Linked DNA regions of Homo sapiens: all the other regions are linked to region 3. Evidence: promoter capture Hi-C in 16 types of primary human blood cells and fetal thymus (Javierre and others, 2016). All regions are on one chromosome and are shown on one strand. Each heading gives the region's core, a stretch centred on a gene start or on the middle of the fragment in contact. The rest is flanking DNA. Distances are from core to core; before and after follow the strand shown.

Region 1 (2,700 bases), core at 90-2,589, 210 kb after region 3:
CTAGTTAGTTCCCTGTGGAACTGTCTTCTCACCTCCCTTTTTGATGCTTTCTACTCTCTTGGCAAACCAGCCCCTTCCTCTATCTCAGCTACCTAACAAGGATGCCCTATGTTCAGATAAGGATCAAGGTTGGAAAGGGTTTGATTAATTCAAACAAGTTTGGAGCAAATGAGAATTTAAGATGTAATTCCTCTCAAGAGAACTCTATTCATGGAGCATTCTAAAATATTGTAAATCCTTCAACAAAATCTATAATAATGGAATTTCATACCTGTAGGAGAGAGAAATTTGGCTGGAACACTCTTCTATTGCCCTCAAATCATACTGTGCTTTGTAATTTAAAGAAATATGAATTTAATGCCAACAACGTGCAGACACCGTTTTTTTTGTTTTGTTTTTTGAGACAAGGTCTCACTCTGTCACCCAGGCTGGACTGTAACCTCCACCTCCCAGGCCCAAGCGATTCTCTTACCTCAGCCTCCTGAGTATCTAGGACTATAGCTGCGTGCCACCATGCCCAGCTAATTTTTAAAGTTTTTGTATAGATAGGGTTTTACCATGTTGCCCAGGCTGGTCTTGAACTCCTGGGCTCAAGCAATCCTCCTGTCTAGGCTTCCCAAATTGCTGGGATTACAAGTATGAGCCACTGCACCCAGCTGACACTGTTTTATCTATACATTACAAAGATTAACTTATTTACTGCTTAAAGCCATATGAGGTAGGTACTTTTATGACCCCCATTTTACAGGAAACTGAGGAACAGAGAAGTAAAGTATCTTTCCCAAGGTCACACAGTTAGTGAGAGGCAAAGCTGGGATTCAAATTCACAGAGTCTGCTTCCAGAGGCCATGCTCCTAACTACTGTGCTATTCCGCTAGCTCTGTTTAATGCTTCTTCACTCCCATCCTCCTACATTCATGTATAGACACTTCAGGGTGGATCTTTTAGAAGTAGATCATTTTGGCCGGGCGCAGTGGCTCACGCCTGTAATCCCAGCACTTTGGGAGGCCAAGGCGGGTCGATCACCTGAGGTCGGGAGTTTGAGACCAGCCTGACCAACGTGGAGAAACCCCGTCTCTACTGAAAATACAAAATTAGCCAGGTGTGGTTGCACATGCCTGTAATCCCAGCTACCTGGGAGGCTGAGGCAGGAGAATCACTTGAACCCGGGAGGCAGAGGTTGTGGTGAGCCACGATCATGCCATTGCACTGCAGCTTGGGCAACAAGAGTGAAACTCTGTCCCAAAAAAAAAAAAAAAAAAAGAAGTAGATCATTTTATTTCACTTGGACCTATTGCTGGATCATAAAAGAAAATCTTGACTTCATGTAGACAAATAGATTTGGTGGGTCTAGATTTATTTATTGATTGATTGATATACACAAAATTAAATTATTTTGAGACAGAGTCTAGCTCTGTTGCCCAGGCTGGAGTGCAGTGGTGCAATCTCAGTTCACTGCAACCTCCATCTCCCAGGTTCAAATGATTCTCGTGCCTCAGCCTCCCGAGTAGCTGGGATTACAGGTGTGTGCCACCATGCCTGGCTAATGTTTTTGTATTTTTAATAGAGGCAGAGTTTCACCATGTTGGCCAGGCTGGTCTCGAACTCCCAGCCTCAAGTTATCCACCCACCTCGGCCTCCCTAAATGTTGAGATTACAGGTGTGAGCCATTGTTCCTGGCCTAAAATGTTTTTAAAGTCAAACTAATATATGTGCTATTAAAAAACATTAAAGACTCAAGGGCTTATAACAACAAGTAATAATCCTCTGCCCCTCACTTTTCTTCTCTGGCCCTCTCTCCAGAGGCCAGAACTTGTAATTCCAATGGTTACCTCCACTTCTGTAAATAATATGCTTATACTTACGTTTTTGATTGATTGATCAACTTCAGACATTATCTACTGACTTCCTGCTATGATCATTGAGAATTTAGTTCCCTTCCAAAACTATACTCACCTTTCTCCTCTCCTGCCAATATATTTAACTAAACATTTTTAGTTCTTCGGTTGCTTACTTTTGAAATTTTAAATAATTAAACCTCTATTTCTTGTCCATTAACCTATAGATAAGATCTCCTAACTCCCTATTTCATTAATGCCTCATCCTTCTTCTTACCTTTTATGCAAACATAATGAAATCTATTTTGGTTTTATTATAGATTGATCCTAAAAGTTAAAAGTCAGTGAAAATTACTTATATTATTGTTTTCAATGGAGAGCCATGTAATGTGCTAAGATTATATTGATTTTCTTGTACAACCTTTTTTCCCTCGAGTTTCAAATGACTTTCCATTTTTTCCTTTTAATTGTTTGCCCTGATCCTTAAGACTTTCCATCATTTCAATCATACTTCTAGCTCATTAAGGCCCCCTTTTCCCATACTCTTCCATTATTCTGCTCACTTTATTCTCTTGCTCAAGACCCTCCAATGATGTCTTGTCCCAGCCAACACAGTAGAGAAGGGCCCTGCTTATTCCTCAGAGATCATCTCCTACCACACTTATTTCACTCCCAACATTCCTGCAACGGTTACTTTCTTCTCACTCTTCAAACACACAAAGCTCATTTCTATAGCTGGACCTTGCATTTGCTGTTTCCTCTTCCTGGAATACATTTCTCCCAGAGTTTCCTATCACCCAGTTAGTTCCTCATTTCACTCAGGCCTCAGCCCAAGTGTCATCCCTCAGAGAGACTGTCCTTG
Region 2 (2,700 bases), core at 90-2,589, 170 kb before region 3:
GCCTCGTTTTACTTATCTGTAAAATGAGGACAATAATGGTATCTATCTCATGTGGTCTTTGTGAGGTTTAAATTAGAAGTTACATTTAAGGGGCTTGATGTGGTGCCTGGCATAAAGTGCTTAATAACCTTTCATGTTTTTTGTTTTGTTTTGCTGTTTTTTAGAGAGAGGATCTCACTCTGTCATCCAGGCTGAAGTGCAGTGGTGCAGTCATAGCTCACTGCATCCCAGAATTCCAGGGTCAAGCAATCCTTTGGCTTCAGCCTCTCAAGGAGCTAGGACTACAAGGCATAAACCACCACATCCAACTTCAATAAATATTAGCTATTATTATGATTATGATTATCTGTGAGAAAAGCAGCATGAAATGTCATAAGAAAACCAAGCATCAGAGGTGTTTCTGTCTATGCAATAAGACATGCCAGTGACTGAGCCCACACCAGAGCTGTCTCCAGAGCCTCTGGGCCACCAGCTCTGCCATTTACAGATCAATCCCTTCCATCAACTGTAGCGAATTCTTTTTTTGTTGTTTTTTGTTTTTGTTTTTTGTTTTTTGTTTTAAGATGAGTCTTGCTCTGTCGCCTAGGCTGGAGGGTAGTGGTGCCATCTCAGCTCACTGCAACCTCCGCCTCCCAGGTTAAAGTGATTCTCCTGCCTCAGCCTCTGGAATAGCTGGGATTACAGGCCCCCACCACCATACCCAGCTATTTTTTGTATTTTTAGTAGAGACCAGGTATTGCATGTTGGTCAGGCTGGTCTTGCACTCCTGGCCTCAAGTGATCTACCCGCCTCTGCCTCCCAAAGTTCTGGGATTACAAGCATGAGCCACACTGAGCCAGGGCAAAATTCTTGATAATTATTAAATTTTTCTTTTTCAAGGAATTTGAATTTTTTAAAAAATATGTGTAAGAGAAAGAAATCAATTTTTTTAACAGACACGTTTCAGACATCAGGGAAAAGCAAATTTTGAGACAAAAGAAACAAAATGGCTAAATTTCCAGCCTGGTGCTATAAAACCACCCACAATTGTCACATGAGAACTCTGCTTTCCACAAGCTGACAGCTTTTTATCTCTTCAAAGAAGGTAGCGGATAAAACCCACAGAGAAAACTGCCATCTAACACCAGAGAATGCTGCCATGCTTGTGGTTCCTGATTTTTGGGAAGACATAATACTTTGGTTGGGCAAAACCAGGGAGAATAAATCCAGGGAAAACTTCCTGGAGTCCTTTTTCTCACCCCTGTGATTCCCCCAAGTTTACCTTTGTTTTCTCTCATTTATGAATCTAGTTTGAAATGCAGTAATGTGGGTCTACTTTAGTGCATTATTTCGGATGTATACATCCTGATTACCCAACTAATTAGCATCAATTTGTTTAAGGCAAGAACTCTGAGTTGTACTTTTTGTTTCAGAGTGAACACCTAGATGTGAAGGAAGCTGTTTTGTACCTGTTTTTTGTACCTATAGGCACAGTACCACAGTCTACAGTCCTGATTATTTGTAAGAACTCAATATATAAAAAAGAAAGTATAAGAAATCAATGGGAAAGCATGAGATTATACAAGAAATGATGTTATTTACTTACATGGAGAATACTAGTTTAGCAGTTTTAAGCTATCACGTATCTTAAAAATAAATCCAGGGCCAGGTGCAGTGACTCACGCCTGTAACCCCAGCACTTTGGGAGGCCAAGGTGGAAGGATCACTTGAGGTCAGGAGTTTGAGACCAGTCTAGGCAACATAGCCAGACCCCATCTTAAAAAAAAAAAAATTTAATTTAAAAAATTTTAAAAACTACATCCATAGTCCCAGTTACTCAGAGGCTGAGACAGGAAGATCTCTTTAGCTCAGGAGTTTGAGGCTTCAGTGAGACATGATGGTGCCACTGCACTCCAGCCTGGGTGACACAGTGAGACCTTGTCTCAAAAATAAATTAATTAATTTTATATTTAATGACTTAATGTATTCATCTGAATTCAAAATTCACCAAAATAAAGGGAATTGAATATTTACCATCTTAAGAACAGGGGATACCTATGCTTAGAAATACATATGCATTAATATAAAAACATAAAGCAAATTATGAAGTAAGTTTAATTCTTACAACTTTAAATTTTTATGTAAAAATTCTAACACCAGTAAGGGAAGGGGAAAGGGTGAGTGAAGGGAACAAAAAGCGATATAAATGTGTTTACTACCACTGAACTGCATACTTAAAATGGTAAAGATGGTAAATTATATATGTATTTTTTCTTCTATTTTTAAAATGTAACAAAAAACTCAACTGAAAGTAAAACAACAAAGTGGGAATAGTTTGCAACAAATATTATAGGCAAAAGGTTGGTTATAGGCAAAAAAATAAAAGTAATATAATAGTGAGATATCATTTCTCATGCATTAGATTAGCAAAATAAAAGTTTTTAGTTATTGTAACCAATGCTGTTAGTCAAACAGCCAATATCATATTTTGTACAACCATTTTAATGGCAATGTGGACATATGGAATATAACCTAAAGAAATAATCCTATGTATGAAAAGTGCTTTATTCACAATTATGTTTATCATAGTAATAATAATAAGCATGGAGAAGAAAATAAATATTGAACAGTAGCAAATTAGTGATTACACTGTAGCAGCTGCCAGGGAGTATAGTAAGCAATTCTTACTAAGAATATGTAATAATATGTAAAATGATTTAT
Region 3 (2,700 bases), core at 93-2,592:
ACTCATAGGGAGCCAAGCCCGGGCATGTTGCTTCTTGGCTCCCACAGGTGAATTTGAAGTGGCAATAGAACTTCGTTGATTCTTGTTTTTCTCATTTTAGTTTTACTCTCTATTAAATTGTTATTTTTTACAGTTCATTTATGGATGACAAGTTATTTCCTGTTGGTAGCTGCAATGATTGGGAATTTTGTGATCTCTGTAAACGAATTAATATCTCATAGAGATCTATTTCCTGTTGGATATGAGACAACAGAGAACACAGTTTTTGTCCATTTGTCTTTTTTAAGGTCAAATCGATTAGAAATTTCTTGCCCTCAAGTAAGGAGAACAACTCTGATACCTGGACTGGCAAGCTTTTGTGTTTCTGTGTTTATTTTTCATTTGTGGCTGAACTTGTAGAATTGAGGGTATACACATTCTATCTGTATGTCTATGTATCTGTAATTCAGAAAGTCCTTTATTTCTCATTGTGAGTATGGAATGTTTTCCTGTCTCCAGATGGTATTAATAAATTAGATGGTAAAGGCTCTTTAAAAATAAAGCCTCATTATGGGTTCATTTTCCCTCTCAAACTCTGTAGAACATAACCAGTTTGAAAAGCCTCTAGATTTGGGGGTGTAAAAATTCCATGCAGCTTGAGAGCCATCAGTCATTAAGCCGCTAGTTCCACCCCAAGTCTTGCTGTCCAGAAGCTCAGACAGTCCACTGGGCAGCAAAGAGGCGCTTTAGTAAGTTGAATTAAAGCCACAAACATGGCTGCTCCCTAAGGGAGATAATACTGTGTTAAAAAAAGAGAATTATTTATCTCTTCCCATTTCCTCCGCTAAATGAGGAGGTTAATAGTAAGACCTCCTTAGCCATGAGTGTTTCCGCTGCAGGAAACACCATTCGTGCCGGTTCTGGACTCACCACCCAGCGTGTACCAACGCCCCCAGCACCATCTCCCTGCTAGGCTGACAGACCCCTGGCGGATTTTGACCTCGCAAGAAATGCAAAAGCAACTTTGGGTTGCAGAAGCCAGGCGCCCCGACCTTACCCTCGCTGGAATTCCCGAAGACCTCGGCTGCACCAGCCACCCGGTGTTCGGATGCCAGCACCGCTACGACCAGCAGCTGCAGGAACCCCATTGCTGCCTGGGCCGGGCTGGGCCCACGCCAGGGCTGGGGAGAGGTGCGGGCGTGCGCGCCGGGGCCCCGCAGCCTCGCCCACGCTATCCCGGGGCGCCCGCATCGGGCGCCATCGCCCGCCAGGTGCAGACGCTTCGCACCTGCCAGCTCCGCAGCCGCCGGCGCGCGCCCCGCCGAACTCCTAGCCCCAGCGAGAGGTTTCCTCTTCCGGCACCTGACCCCCAACGCGCGTTCCCGCGCCTCCTCCCGGGCTCTCGCTGCGTCACAGCGGCGGGTCTCTGGGCGCGGGCGGCGCTGGGGCGTTTCCAGGCAGCGCGCGCCTCCTGCCGGCGCGCGGGGAACGCGCAGCCTGCGGTGCTCCCGGGAGCCCCCAGGAAGTCCTGGCTTGAGGCCCGGTCTTGCCCCACTTTTATCTCACCAAGTAGGCAAACCCACTGTGAAAGTACAAAATAACTTTCTGTTGCGGACTAACGTCGCCAGGCTCCTGTTTCCGTGTTTAACGGCCCTTTACAACAGCAAAAAAGAGGAATCAGTTGCTAAAAACACAATTGAAGGTTATTTCCCCCGGTAGCAATTGTCTTCGCTGCTGAGGCTTATGTTAGCATAAAAATGCCAGGAGAATGCTGTTTGTGTAGTGGTTACCGCACTAGTCATAAGCACTACATTTAAAAGTAGTTTCGTTTTCTCTAAGCGAAATATCCTCGAAGACACGGCCTTGGTCTGAACTTCGTCTCAAGTCTCATACCTGAGTGCTGTTTGAGGGACAGTAGTCCATGTGACAGATGGCTCATCGATGATGTGGAATTAGACGCATAGACTTAACGTTATTTGGGGAGGATTGTCTTGCTTTCCTTCCCTGGTTTTAATTTTTTTCACTTATATATTTTGATGAGCAACTTATAGCTTGGAAATTACATGTTCAGTTAGTCCACTACTAAGCTAACAATATATAGCTGTGACCATAATGTGAAGAAGTGTTAAAGACAAAATTATTCAATGATACTTGTTAAAGCACCGAACGAAGACTATTGAGGACTGTCTCAATTGGCATAGGGACCACTGCAACTGGGTCTTGCAGTGGGGAAGAGGGACTGGGCTCAACTCCGAATACAGCGTGGGCAAGAGGGAATTTATAGCCAACCAGCAGTATGGAGTTCAGTGGATGGAAAATTACTAAGAGGAAGCATCAGAGGTAAGGGGCATTTGGTGAAACTGACCTAACAGGACTTCTGAAGACATAACATCACCTGGGGGATGGTGCAGGGTGAGAAAACTGATTAGATATGGAGGAAAGGGGGTTCTTTGCTAAAACTGGATTTTTACAAAGAAGTGCACAGATGGACCTAGCAGAAGATTCAGAAGCCGTACTAGAGTTTGGCCAAGCAAATAATCTTTGTCATAGGCACAATTCTTTCTCTGCTTTCCCACTGCCTGGTCCAAATTTTCACACCTTTGGTAGCACTATCTATTTCTGTAGTGCTTATTCACTCTCCCACATGCCCCTATTCCTATAACCCTCAGTAGATGAAATCCAAGGAAGATGAAAGGGACAATTATGATAAGGGTAGCATCT

Evidence for each region. The method cuts DNA at HindIII sites, captures the fragments that hold promoters and counts their contacts. A CHiCAGO score of 5 or more calls a contact.
Region 1: a fragment that was not itself captured here is called in contact with the fragment with the promoter of TM7SF3 in region 3 in 2 of 17 cell types (neutrophils and monocytes); the score reaches 7.8 in neutrophils.
Region 2: a contact is called between a fragment that was not itself captured here and the fragment with the promoter of TM7SF3 in region 3, in 12 of 17 cell types (neutrophils, activated CD4 T cells, fetal thymus and 9 more). The highest score is 15.3, in neutrophils.

What each region holds. Positions count from the first base shown.
Region 1 is chr12:27,226,935-27,229,634 of GRCh38, forward strand. No RefSeq gene overlaps it. Among named protein-coding and RNA genes, the nearest start is that of STK38L, 16 kb to the right of the region's middle. The HindIII fragment of the contact is 3,906 bases long and covers 1-2,700 here.
Region 2 is chr12:26,842,437-26,845,136 of GRCh38, forward strand. No RefSeq gene overlaps it. Among named protein-coding and RNA genes, the nearest start is that of ITPR2, 11 kb to the left of the region's middle. RefSeq lists a silencer at 2,640-2,700. The HindIII fragment of the contact is 5,050 bases long and covers 1-2,700 here.
Region 3 is chr12:27,013,042-27,015,741 of GRCh38, forward strand. TM7SF3 (transmembrane 7 superfamily member 3) reads right to left here and starts at 1,343. Exons shown (of 12, transcript NM_016551.3): 1 at 1,037-1,343. The coding sequence starts at 1,127. RefSeq lists a silencer at 1,036-1,535. The HindIII fragment of the contact is 5,016 bases long and covers 352-2,700 here.